5 separate regions of the Homo sapiens genome follow, and regions 1, 2, 3 and 4 are each linked to region 5. Evidence: promoter capture Hi-C in human tissues and cell types (Jung and others, 2019). All regions are on one chromosome and are shown on one strand. The core of a region is centred on a gene start or on the middle of the fragment in contact, and the rest is flanking DNA. Distances in the headings are between cores, read along the strand shown.

Region 1 (2,700 bases), core at 148-2,647, 1.7 Mb after region 5:
GGGGGCTGTTCTGTGTGTTGTAGGGTGTTTTACACCATCCTGGCCTCTATCCACTTAATGGTGGGCGCACCTCGCCCCCAGTTACAAGGATCAAGACTGTACACAAACATTGCTAACTTACCCTTGGTTGAGAACCACTGACCCTAGGATAAGACCATGTTCAGAGACGTACACTTAAAAATATCCCTAGGAGATTCTAATATGTAACGAGGGTTGAGAACTATTGATATAAGCCAATTAGTCAATCCAGTTTCTTGTAGGTTTTTCCAGGTTCCCTTGCAGCTATGTGTGGTCATGTGACTTAGTTCTGGCCAGTGAGATTTAAGTGGAAGTTTGCTTTGCTAGAGGGTTTGTGAGAGGAGGTCTAAGAAAGCTTGTACTTTATTGATGAAAGGTGACAGACATAGCTCTTGTTTCCTGCCTACTCTCCTCTTTTTCCTGTTTGTATGAAGCTGTGATGTTTGGAGTTGTGGCCACCAACTTGTAATCAAATGAAGACAAGCATGAATATAAAAACTAGCCTGTTAAGGATGGCAGACAGGAAAGACAGGGAAGGCATAAAATAAAAAATTTATTTAAATTTTTATTTTATTTTAAACTGGGTCCCTGCTGGCAGTTTTTGGCAGCTGAACCAACAATAAGCAGGACTTGTTTAGTGAGTACAAATTTCTCCCTGTGTGTTTAAGCTGCTGTAGGCAGGTTTTTGTTATCTGAGTGAAAATCAATCACAATTACTACAGTTACGAATGTAATAAAAGGAAGAAGAAAAATAGATTACTGGTAGGATAGAGATGGGAAGGAAAGAGAATACTGTAAACAAGCTAAATCCTCATCTCTCATAACAGGAAGTATAAAGGGATGAATAAAAACAGTTGTATATATATCTCCAAAAGAATTGAAAACATATGTGCACACAAACACTTATATATGAACGCTCACAGCAGCGTTATTCATAATAGCCCCAGGTGGAAACAGTGTAAATGTCCACCAACTAATGAACGGATAAACGAAATGTAGTCTATACATACAATGTAGTCTATGCATACATTACTTTATGACCAGCTGTCATAAAGTAATGGGGCACTGACACACGCTACGACATGGATGAACCCTGAAATCATTACACTAAGTGATAGAAGCCAATCATACAAGGTTACATATTATGTGATTCCATTTGTATGAAATGTCCAGAAAAGGTAAATCTATAGAAACATAAAGTAGATGTGCCTGGCGCGGTGGCTCACCCCTGTAATTTCAGCACTTTGGGAGGCCGAGGCAGGCAGAGCATTTGAGGTCAGGAGTTCGAGGCCAGACTGGCCAACATGGTGAAACACCACCTCTACTCTATATACAAAAAATTAGCCGGGCGTAGTGGTGCATGCCTGTGATCTCAGCTACTCAAGAGGCTGAGGCAGGAGAATCGCTTTTGCCCGGCCAGTGTGCTCCCGAAGCCGGCTGAGGGCCGCAGCTCTGCCGGGATCAGGCTTCACGGTGGCGCGGCCGCTGTCCCGGATGCTGCGCCGGCTCCTAAGGTCCAACGCCACGGAGCTGCAGCTCACGGGTTCCGGTGATGCCGCCCCGCCCGGGCGAGTCCCCGCAAGCTGCCTCACAGGAGCTGTCCAGGTGGAGGCAGTTCTCGCGGGAGCACGAGGCCCCCTTCTCCGCCTTCCTCACAGACAGCTTCGGCGGGCAGCACAGCTACCTGCGGATCTCCCTCCCGGAGAAGTGCAACCTCAGATGTCAGTACTGCATGCCGGAGGAAGGGGTCCCGCTGACCCCCAAGGCCAACCTGCTGACCACAGAAGAGATGTTGACCACAAAAGAGATCCTGACCCTCGCCTGGCTTTTTGTGAAGGAAGGCGTCGAAAAGATCTGGCTCATGGGCGGAGAGCCGCTCATCCAGCCGGACGAGGTGGACATTGTGGCCCAGCTCCAGCGACTGGAAGGGCTGAGGACCATTGGTGTCACCACCAATGGCATCAACCTGGCCCGGCTGCTGCCCCAGCTTCAGAGGGCTGGTCTCAGCGCCATCAACATCAGCCTGGACACACTGGTGCCTGCCAAGTTTGAGTTCATTGTCCGCAGGAAAGGCTTCCACAAGGTCATGGAGGGCATCCACAAGGCCAATGAGCCAGGCTACAACCCTGTGAAGGTGAACTGTGTGGTGACGCGAGGCCTTAACGAGGATGAACTCCTGGACTTTGCGGCCTTGATCAAGGGCCTCCCCCTGGACGTGGCCTTCATAGAGTACATGCCCTTTGATGGCAACAAGTGGAACTTCAAGAAGATGGTCGCTATAAGGAGATGCTAGAAACTGTATGGCAGCTGTGGCCAGAGTTGGAGAAGCTGTCAGAGCAGGAATCCAGGACAGCCAAGGCCTTTAAAATCCCTGGCTTCCAAGGCCAGATCAGCTTCATCATGTCCATGTCTGAGCATTTCTGTGGGACCTGCAACCACCTGCAAATCACAGCTGACGGGAACCTCAAGGTCTGCCTCTTTGGAAACTCTGAGGTATCTCTACGGGATCACTGTGATCTGGGGCCTCCAAGCAGGAGCTGCTGAGAATCATTGGCGCTGCCGTGGGCAGGAAGAAGCAGCAGCATGCAGGCATGTTCAGTATTTCCCAGATGAAGAACTGGCCCATGATCCTCATCGGTGGGTGACCCCCATCAAGACATTTTTGATGTTCCACGATTCCCC
Region 2 (2,700 bases), core at 103-2,602, 1.7 Mb after region 5:
GTAGCTATACTTATATCAGATAAAATAAACTGTAAGTCAAAAACTATTAGAAGAAACAAAGTCATTATAAAATATTAAAGGGGTCAATTCAGCATGACAGTATAACAACTATACATACATATATATATATATGTACACACTCAAATACATAAGGCAAATATTAATAGATTTGAAGGGATAGACTATAATACAATAACTGTAAGGAACATCAACACACCACTTTCAGTTCAAGACCAGCCTGGGCAACATGGCAAAATCCAGATGGAAATTAAGATTAGATTAGAAATAAATGAAAGATTAGAGCAGAAATAAATGAAACAGAGACTATAAAAATAGAAAATATTAATAAAATGAGTTGTTTATGAAAAGGTTTTAAAAATTCATAACCCTTTAGCTAGACTAAGAAAAAAGAGGAGACAAAATCAGAAATGAAAAAGTAGATATGACAACTGATACTGCAGATTTACAGAAGATCACAAAAAACTATTATGAACAATTATACACGAACAAATTGGATAACTCAGAAGAAATGGATAAATTCCTTGACACATACAACCTACCAAGATTGAATTAGGAATAGAAAACCTGAAGAGACTAATAATGAGTGAGACTAAATCAGTAATAAGAAGTCTCCTATCAAAGAAAAGCCCAGGAACTGATGGCTTGCTTCACTGCTGAATTCTACCAAACATTTAAAGAAGAACTAATGTCAATTCTTCTCAAACTCTTCCAAAAAACTGAAGAGGAGGAAATACTTCCAAATTCATTTTTGAGGCCAGCATTACCCTGGTACCAAAACCAGATGAGGATAAAACAAAAAAAGAAAACTGCAGGCCAATATCCCTGATGAACACAGATACAAAAACCTTCAACAAAATATAGTTGGCCTTCTCTATCTGTGGTTTCCGCATCCATGGATTCAACCAACCACAGATTGAAAATACTCAGAAAAAAAATTACATTTGTCCTGGACATGTACAGACTTTTTTCCTGTCATTATTCCCTAAAGAATACAATATAACTATTTATATCACATTTACATTGTATAAGGCATTATAAGTAGGTCAAGGAGGTCAAATCATCTCAAGATGATTTAAGTATACAGGAAAATATACATAGATTATACGCAAACACTATACCATTTTATACCAGGGACCTGAGTAGCTGCAGATTTTCATATCCGTGAGAGATCCTGGAACCAATCACCCACAAATGACAAGAGACTACTGTAATAGCAAAGAGAATTCAATAACACATTAAAAAGATCATTCACTATAATCAAGTAGGATTCATCCAAGGAATGCAAGGATGGCTGAACAAATACAAATGCAAATGAAAAAACAGGATACATTACATTAACAGAATGAAAAACAAAAGCCATATGATCAGTTCAATGAATGCCAAAAAAGCATTTGATAAAATCCCATGCCTTTTCATGATAAAAAAAAAAAAATCCCAACACTTCAACACAATAAATGCCACATATGATAAATCTGCAACTCATAACATACTCAGTGAAGAAAAATTTAAGGCTCTTCCTGTAAGATCTGGAACAAGACAAAGAAGCCCGCTCTTTCAATATGGTATTCAAAGTTTTAGAGCAATTAGGCAAGAGAAATATAAGACATCCACACTAGAAAGAAAAAAGTTAAACTGTTCCCAGATGACATGATTTTACTATATAGGAAACCCCTAACAGTCCACCAAAAAAACCCCCAGAATTATTGAATTCCATAAAGTTGCAGAATACAAAATCAACACAAAAATCAGTAGTGTTTCTAAACTAACAGTGAACTACTTAGGAATAAATTTAACCAAGGAGTTCAAAAATCTTTACACAGAAAACGAAAACACTGACAAAAGAAATTGAAGACACAAATAAATGGAATGATATCCCAGGACAATCTCTTCAATAAATATATTGGGAAAAGTATACAACCACATGCAAAAGAATGATATTAGATCCTTATCTCGCATCATATACAATAATCAACTAAAGATGGATTAAAGACTTAAAGGTTAAGACTCCAAACTATGAAACTACTAGATGAAAACATAGAGGAAAAGCTTCACGACATTGGTCTGGACAATGATTTTTTTAAAATACAACCACAAAAGCAGAGGCTACAAAAACAAAAATAGACTAACAGAATTACATCAAATAAAAACCTCTGGACAAGCAAGAAGCCAATCAACAGAGATTACCTACAGAATGAGAGAAAATATTTGCAAACTATACACATAAGAGGTTAATATCCAAAAATATAAAAGGAACTCAAAACAACAAGAGCAAGACAACAATCCAATTAAAAAATGAGCAAAAGATTTGAATAGACACATTTATCAAAAGAAGATATACAAATGGCCAACAGGTACAGTAGTGAGTCCCCCCTTATGTGTGGTTTCAGTTACCCTTGGTCAAGCATGTTATGAAAATATTAAATAGAAAACTCCAGAAATAAGCAATTCATAAAAATTTTTAATTGTGCCCTCTAAGCAGTGCAGTGAAATCTTCCGCTATCCAGTATTGGAATCATTCCTCTGTCTGGTATATCCACGCTGTATATACTACCTGCCCAACAGACAGTAGCTGCCTTGGTTATCAGATCGACTGTAGCAGTATCTAGGTGGCCATCTTCAAGTTGCCCTTATTTTACTTAATAACGATCCCAAAATACAAGAGTAGTAACGTTGGCAATT
Region 3 (2,700 bases), core at 192-2,691, 1.5 Mb after region 5:
TAAATATGAAGAGCTTTTGGGGGTTGGAGGCAGCACACTATTATTTTGGTGAGCTAAGCTATCTACAGCCACTTACATACGTTTGAAGTTTGCAGAAAGGTGGGTCTTAAAATCATACATATTACAATAAAAATTACTCACAAAGGAAAAACTGTTCCCCAAAAATTAACACACCAAACTGGCCCATGATTAAATAGGACAATTTCAAGTTTAAGGGTATAAAAGCAATAGAACAAAGTTAATAAGTATCTCCCATACCTACCCCATGTACAGCCTCCTGAAAGACACCAAAAATAAGAAATGGAGGAAGTCTTCGTTATAACAAGCAATTTCAGGACAAGAGTTATGCCTCATAAATCAAATGTGTAATGGACCAAGAAATATGGCTATAGATCTTACCTCTATAGGCTAAGAATATGAAGACCCAAATGCAAATAGTTAATACTAAAATGTCAAGCTTATTAACTGTTAAACACAAAATGTACTACCTTAATTTGCTTAAATTAGCAAAACATGAGGTGAAAATGAAAATGGAAAACTTCACACAGTTACTGGTGTCCTCTGGAACCTCTCCAGAAAGCAATGATGAAGTGTGTAAAAAATAATCCCAAGAATATAAACAGAAAACATACAGGTATGTTCATGGTTTACTTATATCCAGCAAGAACCTAGGTAAAATTACAGTGAATCCTCAAACTAACAAAAATTATTTTTCCAAGATTATTAAAGTGGTGAAACACTCAGATGACCATGTTGTGTGATGAAAGGCCTACAAGGTAATACATAAAAGGGCTCCCAATATCTTTGAAAATAAACATGTGGCTGGAGCCAGCTGCTCATGCCTGTAATCCCAGCACTTCAGGAGGCCAAGGCAGGAGGATCACTTGAGCCCAAGGGGTTTGAGACCAGCCTGGGCAACATAGCGAGACCCCATCTCCACAAAAAAATTTAATTAGCCAAGCATGATGCCATACACCTGTACTCTCAGCTACGCAGGAGGATGAGATGGGAGGATCACTTGAGCCCAGGAGTTTGAGGCTGCAGTGAACCGATTGCACCATTATACTCCAGCCTGGGTGACAGAGGATGAGCATATGTACATACACATAAAAAAAACTGGAAAAATAAAAATGTCACCTGAGTGGACAGTTAAGATTACACATCTCAATTGTATGTGCAGTTTTATAATTTCCAAAGTCTACATGAACTTTATAATCAAAACACTTAATAGTAAAACTACAAAATGATATACCTCCACGAATATACCCAATATGTTTTGTTTTTTGAGCCAAGAGTCTCAGTCCGTCACCCAGGCTGGAGTGCAGTGATACGATCTTGGCTCACTGCAACCTCCGCTTCCTGGGTTCAAGGGATTCTTCTGCCTCAGCTTCCCTAATAGGGTGTGCCATCATGCCTGGCTTTTTTGTACTTTTAGTAGAGACAGGGTTTCACCATGTTGGTCTCGAACTCCTGACCTTAAGTGATCCGCCCACCTTGGCCTCTCAAAGTGCTGGGATTACAGGTATGAGCCACAGCGTCCAGCCACGTTTATTTTGAAAGATATTGGGAGCCCTTTTACATATTATAATGTAACCCTTTCACCATACAACATTAAATATGGAATAAAAGTCACTTTTTCCAAGCACACATGCTAATGAACAGACTTGAATATAAATCTGTGGTTGAACTGTTGTTCTCTTTCACCATAAAAATGGCTACGCAAGGCCGGGCGCGGTGGCTCACGCCTATAATCCCAGCACTTGGGAGGCAGGCGGATCACAAGGTCAGGAGATTGAGAACATCTTGGCCAACATGGTGAAACCCCGTCTCTACTAAAAATATAAAAATTGGCCGGGCATGGTGGCACGTGCCTGTAGTCCCAGCTACTCTGGAGGCTGAGGAAGGAGAATCGCTTAAACCCAGGAGGCCGAGGTTGCAGTGAGCCGAGATCACGCCACTGCACTCCAGCCTGGGTGACAAGAGTAAAACTCCGTCTCAAAAAAAAAAAGCTCCACAAGCACATTATAACCAGTTCAAAAGATATTTATGTAAGGAAGAGACTACACAATCATCTTTTCTGAAAATGGATAACAGAAATAAACTCTTATCCAAAATTATCCAGAATCAGTGGTGGGATAAGGGTGAAGCCCAAATTTTCATTGACTTTCTAGGCTTACAGTACCCATAAAAACCACACAAAATTCTCTTTCACCATTCAGAAGGCAATTTCAGAATCTTGCCATGTGCCTCAAAGTAATTAGCAACAGTTAACTACATGGTACTGAAGGCATAATGGTAGCTAACATTCGCTGGATGCTGATATGAGCAAAGCACTGTTTCAGGTAACATACCTGTACCCCATTTAAAGGTTTTAAGTATCTACCATAATTTAACCCCACTTTACACATTAGGAAACTGGGGCCCAAGGTCACACAGCTGGTTAGTGGGGTAGAGCCGAGACTGGCACTTAGGTGCCTGGAAGTCTGGTTGCAGAACCAAGGCTCTTAGCCACTAGGCTATGAAATAGTGAATTTATTATATCATTGTGCTTTTTTAAAGAGGTGAAAAGTGGTCAGCATTTTAGTCATTCTCCTGACAGTTGTAAGAATCAAAATGTGGGCAAGAGGGGCAGGGCATGGGAAAGACTAATCCAGAGGCCATATACCCAGTTATTTGCTGTGATTAGAGTTAAGTCTACCG
Region 4 (2,700 bases), core at 88-2,587, 1.4 Mb after region 5:
TTTTCATAATGGCTGTTATCGGGGGACCTGCCCCAATAATCATGTAGGTTCTTTTCTATTTTCCTAAGCATTGGCTGGCTTGAGAAATAAAGAGACAGAGTACAAAAGAGAGAAATTTTAAAGCTGGGTGTCTGGGGGAGACATCACACGTTGGTAGGATCCGTGATGCCCCACAAGCCACAAAAACCAGCAAGTTTTTATTAGGGATTTTCAAAAGGGGAGGGAGTGTGCGAATAGGTGTGGGTGACAGACATCAAGTACTTAACAGGGTAATAGAATATCACAAGGCAAATGGAGGCAGGGCGAGATCACAGGACCACAGCTCCGAGGCGAAATTAAAATTGCTAATGAAGTTTCGGGCACCATTGTCACTGATAACATCTTATCAGGAGACGGGGTTTTGAGATAACGGATCTGACCAAAATTTATTAGATGGGAATTTCCTCTTCCTAATAAGCCTGGGAGCGCTATGGGAGACTGGAGTCTATCTCACCTCTGCAATCTCGACCATAAGAGACAGGTACGCCCCGGGGGGGCCAGTTCAGAGACCTACCCCTAGGTGCGCATTCTGTTTCTCAGGGACATTCCATGCTGAGAAAAAAGAATTCAGCGATATTTCTTCCATTTGCTTTTGAAAGAAGAGAAATATGGCTCTGTTCTGCCCGGCTCACCAGCGGTCAGAGTTTAAGGTTATCTCTCTTATTCCCTGAACAATTGCTGTTATCCTGTTCTTTTTCCACGGTGCTCAGATTTCATATTGCACAAACACACATGCTGTACAATTTGTGCAGTTAACGCAATTATCACATAGTCCTGAGGCCACATACATCCTCCTTGGCTGACAGGATTAAGAGATTAAAGTAAAGACAGGCATAGGAAATCACAAGAGTATTGATTGAGGAAGTGATAAGTGTCCATGAAATCTTTACGATTTATGTTTAGAGATTGCAGTAAAGACAGGCATAAGAAATTACAAAAGTATTAATTTGGGGAACTAATAAATGTCCATAAAATCTTCACAATCCACGTTCTTCTGCCATGGCTTCAGCCGGTCCCTCCGTTTGGGGTCCCTGACTTCCCGCAACACGCTGTACCAATTTACATTCCGAACAACAGTGTACAAGGGTGCCCTTTTCTCCATATCCTCACCTTCACTGATGATGGTTTTTTTGTTTGTTTGTTTGTTTTTTTAAATAATGGCCATCCTAACAGGCATAAAGTGCTTTCTCATTGTGGTTTTGATTTGCATTTCCCTGATGATTAGTCATGATAAGCACCTATTTGATTTTTTGCCGTTAAGTTTCATGAGTTCCTTGTGTATTTTGGATATTAACCCCTTATCAGAAATATGGTTTGCACATATTTTCTGCTGTTACATAGGTTGCCTTCTCATTTTGCTGAACTTTTTTTATTCTGTACAGAAGCTTTTCAGTTTGATATAATTTCACTTGTTCATTTTTGCTTTTGTTGCCTTGACTTTGGTGTCAATATCCAAAAATACCATGCCCAGACCAATGTCAAGGAGCTTTTAAAATATATTTTGTTCTAGGAGTTTTACAGTTTCAGGCCTTACATTTAAGTCTTTAATCCATTTTGAATTAATGTTTGTACATGGTGTCATATAAGGGTTCAAGTGCATTCTTCTGCCTGTGGGTATCTGGTTTTCCCACAACATTTTCTTGAAGAGACTGCCCTTTCCCTATTGTATATTCTTGGTGCCCTTGTTGAAAATTGGTTGACCTTCTAGGTAACTTTATAGGTTTATTTCTGGGCCCTCTATTCTATTCCATTGGTCCGTGTGTCTGTTTTTGTGCCAGAATCATACTCTCTGATTACTGTAGCTTCGTAATATAACTTGAAGTCAGAAAGTCTGGTGCCTCCACGTTTGTTCTTGCTCAAGATTGGTTTGGCTATTCAGGGTCTTTTGTAATTTCTTATTAATTTTAGGATTTTTAAATCTATTTTTGTGAAAAATGTCATTGGAATTTTAATAGGGATTACATTGAACTTGTAAATTGCTTTGAGTGGTATAGACATTTTAACAACATTCTTCTAGTCTACGAACATGTAATATCTTTCCATTTATTTGTGTCTGACTTATTTCATCAGTGTTTTATAATTTTTAGTGTACAGACATTTTACCTCCTTGGTTAAGTTTGTACTTAAGTATTTCATTCTTTCTGAAACTATTGTAAATGAGATTGTTTCCTTAATTTCTATTTATTTATTTATTTTTTTGACAGGAGTTTCACTCTTGTCGCCCAGGCTGGAGTGCAGTGGCATGATCTTGGCTCACTGCAACCTCTGCCTCCCAAGTTCAAGCGATTCTCCTGCCTCAGCCTCACGAGTAGCCTTAAATACAGGCACCTGCCATGACACCCGGCTAATTTTTTGTATTTTTAGCAGAGACGGGGTTTCACCATGTTGGACAGGCTAGTCTCGAACTCTTGACCTCAAGTGATCCACCTGCCTCGGCCTCCCAAAGTGCTGGGATTACAAACGTGAGCCACTGCGTCTGGCCCTTAATTTCTCTTTGGAGAAAGGTTTTTTTTTTTTTTGAGCTTTATTGAAGTGTAATTGACGTACAGTAAACTTCACAAATGTAGTATGTACATTTTGATGAGTTTTGACTTACATATACATCTGTAATACCATCACCATAATTAAGATAATGAGCATAACCCTCACCTCCAAAAGTTT
Region 5 (2,700 bases), core at 137-2,636:
ATAAAGGATACTTAATAAAACATGTAACATGTTTTCTGTTAAAAGATTTGAAAAACCTACAAGAATTCTCCTTGAAAAATGCACTAAAATCAGCTTATTAAAAAGTCTCCAGCCATTTCAAATTACTCTTGATTTAAAAAAAAAAAAAGGCGGTGGGGGGAGGGGAGGAGAGAAAGGTAGTCATTTTGAAAAAATCCACTCAGTGGAAAAGGAAAAAACACACCCAGATCTACATGTTGGTAACAAACGAGGGCCTTACGAATGGTTTTAACTGAAGTAGTTTTAACTCATTAGATGTTAAGGCTTAAAGGAATGTCTATTATTCCAGTAAAGAATTGAGACACGCTTCAACACAGCGATCACTGAAATGAGATGTTTTAAATTACAACTATTACACCATGAACTCAATGTAGAAAGGAATCGTTTCAAATTCAAGAAACGAGATAGAGAGATAGAGAGATAGAGAGAGACAGACAGAGAGAGAGAGAGAGAGAGAGAGAGAGAGAGAGAGAGAGACACACAGAGACATTCAGACAGACAGGGATACAGATCTGGAAGCAGACAGGCCAAATTTGTAACAGTGGATACTGCGAGGGGTGGGGAAGTTAGGAGCGCCCAAAAAGGAGGAAGGGCTTAAACAGGGGCTTTATTCAATCATGACCCATTAAAAACGATGTAAAGGCAGGATTCGCGATTGCACAGCAAAAATATAATAAATAGATGAGGAAGGGGAAAAAATCTCCAAATTCGCCGAAACTCAAAATCATTACACGCGGCCCCCTTTGTCCCACTCAGGCGCCCGCCCCGGTCGCGGAGGGGCCGTTTTGGGGAAGCCCCGCACCCGTCGGAACCGGGAACAAAGCCGCCCCGGCCGCAGGAGGGGTTCTCGGAGCTAGGGCCTGGCCTCGGAGGCGGGCGTGCGGCACACTCTCGCCGGGGCTGCGGCCCGCAGGCTCCCACCGCTGTCACCGCCGCCGGCGAGGAGAGTCTGGGGCTCCAGACAGCCGCCCGGTGAGCCCACCAAAGGCGCGCTCCTCCAGTGGCCGGGACACAGCAAGAAGGGGCTTGGCCGTCTGGCCGCCGCCAGGTGGACGCTGGCGGGCCACGGCCCCGGGCTTTTCCCGGGAAACCCCTCGGTGCAGCCCGACCGGCCCCGGATCCCCGCCGCCGCCGGCGGGCCCCAGGATCTGCCCACCGCTCGGCCTCCGGGAGCCCGGCGAGGCCCCCCTCCACAGACAACGGCCGCCAAGCCACTGCCGCCCGCCCGCGCGCCCGGCCCCCGGCACCCACCTGTTGGTCGCACTCGGGGCATGATTTGGTGGCCATCTTCACTTTCTTGGCTCGAGTTGCAGACATGCTCCTCTCCCTTAGCGGCGGCAGCAGCGACGGCTCGGGCTCCTCCCCTCACACTTCGGCAGCCCGGCCTCCGCCCGCCCAGTCCCCGCGGGCCTCAAACAAGCCTCTGGCGGGTGCGCGCGCGCGCGTGCGCGAGCTCGCGCGGGACCTGGGCGCCAAGGGGGCGGGGCGGAGCGTCGGCCGGCGGCTCCTGGGGACCGCGACACGCGCTCCCACGGCGGCTCGCGACCCACAGCCCGCCCGCGAGCTCGCCCAGAGTATCACGAGACGAGGGGAGACCTCCCCCCCCTCCGCCAGACCGCCCCGGCGCGGCAGTGGCCACGCCTCCTCTCGGCCTGGCCGACTACGAGGGGGCAAGGCCTGGGCGGGACTCGGCAGTAACGGGCGTCGAGTTCGACCAACGAATGCATAGGTAGGGCGGGCCGTAGTGCTGGGCACGCCCCATCCCCACAGAGACCGTGGGAGCGAAGGCTGGGGAATGAATGGTGAAGGGCGTAGCGTGGATCCTGGCATTTAATAAACTTAAGTAGATGTTACCAAGGCTAATCATTGAGAAATTATGATAGACATTTTATGAGACCACTGGACCCAGCAGCAGAGTGAAAATTCATTTATTTATTCAATATATAATTGCCTAAGTCCCACTGTCAGGAAAATTTGAATAAAATGCAGTGTCAGCCTTCAAGGAGCAGCCTAGCTGTGTAAACCAGTGCTACTCACTATCAAGATGAGGGATCAGATGTTTTTCTTTTTCCAATCTGTCCGTGACTGATACTTACTAAATTAACATTAAAATTAAATTATTCGAGGCTGGGCGCAATGGCTCACGCCTGTAATCCCAGCACTTTGGGAAGCCGAGGAGGGCGGATCTCTTGAGCCCAGGAGTTCCAGACCACCCTGGGCAACATAGCGAGACCCCCATCTCTACAAAAAGTAAAAGATTTTTAAAAATTAGCTGAGCGTGGTGGCCCATGCCTGGAGTCCTAGCTAGTAGAGAGGCTGAGGTGGGAGGATCGCTTGAGCCTATGAGATTGAGGCTTCAGTGAGCCGAGATTGTGGCCACTGCACTCCAGCCTGGGCGACAGAGCGAGACTCCGTCTCAAAAAAAAGAAAAAGAAAGAAAAAGTGAAATTTAAAAACAACTATGCAAAACGTAAGCTTACTTTTAAATATTTAATTTGACAGACCCAAAGTTATACTTAATAAACAATCAGAACAAACATAACAGAAAGAAAATTTACAAACTGTACACTTGGCTCAGAGAAAATTTACCAATATGCATTTATTACAGAGACTGGCTATTCCACTGATAACTTTTTATTCAACAATTGTTAACTAAAGCAA

Evidence for each region. Contacts are between HindIII fragments. The study calls those that stand out against the background at their distance.
Region 1: a fragment that was not itself captured here is called in contact with the fragment with the promoter of C16orf87 in region 5 in 1 of the 25 tissues and cell types used here (dorsolateral prefrontal cortex).
Region 2: a contact is called between a fragment that was not itself captured here and the fragment with the promoter of C16orf87 in region 5, in 1 of the 25 tissues and cell types used here (spleen).
Region 3: a contact is called between a fragment that was not itself captured here and the fragment with the promoter of C16orf87 in region 5, in 1 of the 25 tissues and cell types used here (dorsolateral prefrontal cortex).
Region 4: a fragment that was not itself captured here is called in contact with the fragment with the promoter of C16orf87 in region 5 in 1 of the 25 tissues and cell types used here (dorsolateral prefrontal cortex).

The regions. Positions count from the first base shown.
Region 1 is chr16:48,495,179-48,497,878 of GRCh38, forward strand. It overlaps the pseudogene MOCS1P1. Among named protein-coding and RNA genes, the nearest start is that of SIAH1, 110 kb to the left of the region's middle. The HindIII fragment of the contact is 4,156 bases long and covers 1-2,700 here.
Region 2 is chr16:48,579,809-48,582,508 of GRCh38, forward strand. All of the region lies in intron 1 of N4BP1 (NEDD4 binding protein 1), which reads right to left. Among named protein-coding and RNA genes, the nearest start is that of N4BP1, 29 kb to the right of the region's middle. The HindIII fragment of the contact is 7,549 bases long and covers 1-2,700 here.
Region 3 is chr16:48,357,720-48,360,419 of GRCh38, forward strand. It overlaps a transcript of LONP2 not described here. Among named protein-coding and RNA genes, the nearest start is that of SIAH1, 26 kb to the right of the region's middle. The HindIII fragment of the contact is 5,602 bases long and covers 1-2,700 here.
Region 4 is chr16:48,263,784-48,266,483 of GRCh38, forward strand. All of the region lies in intron 6 of LONP2 (lon peptidase 2, peroxisomal), which reads left to right. Among named protein-coding and RNA genes, the nearest start is that of ABCC11, 18 kb to the left of the region's middle. The HindIII fragment of the contact is 4,072 bases long and covers 1-2,700 here.
Region 5 is chr16:46,829,794-46,832,493 of GRCh38, forward strand. It overlaps C16orf87 (chromosome 16 open reading frame 87), which reads right to left and starts at 1,387. Exons shown (of 4, transcript NM_001001436.4): 1 at 1,291-1,387. The coding sequence starts at 1,356. RefSeq lists a silencer at 1,084-1,733. The HindIII fragment of the contact is 8,650 bases long and covers 1-2,700 here.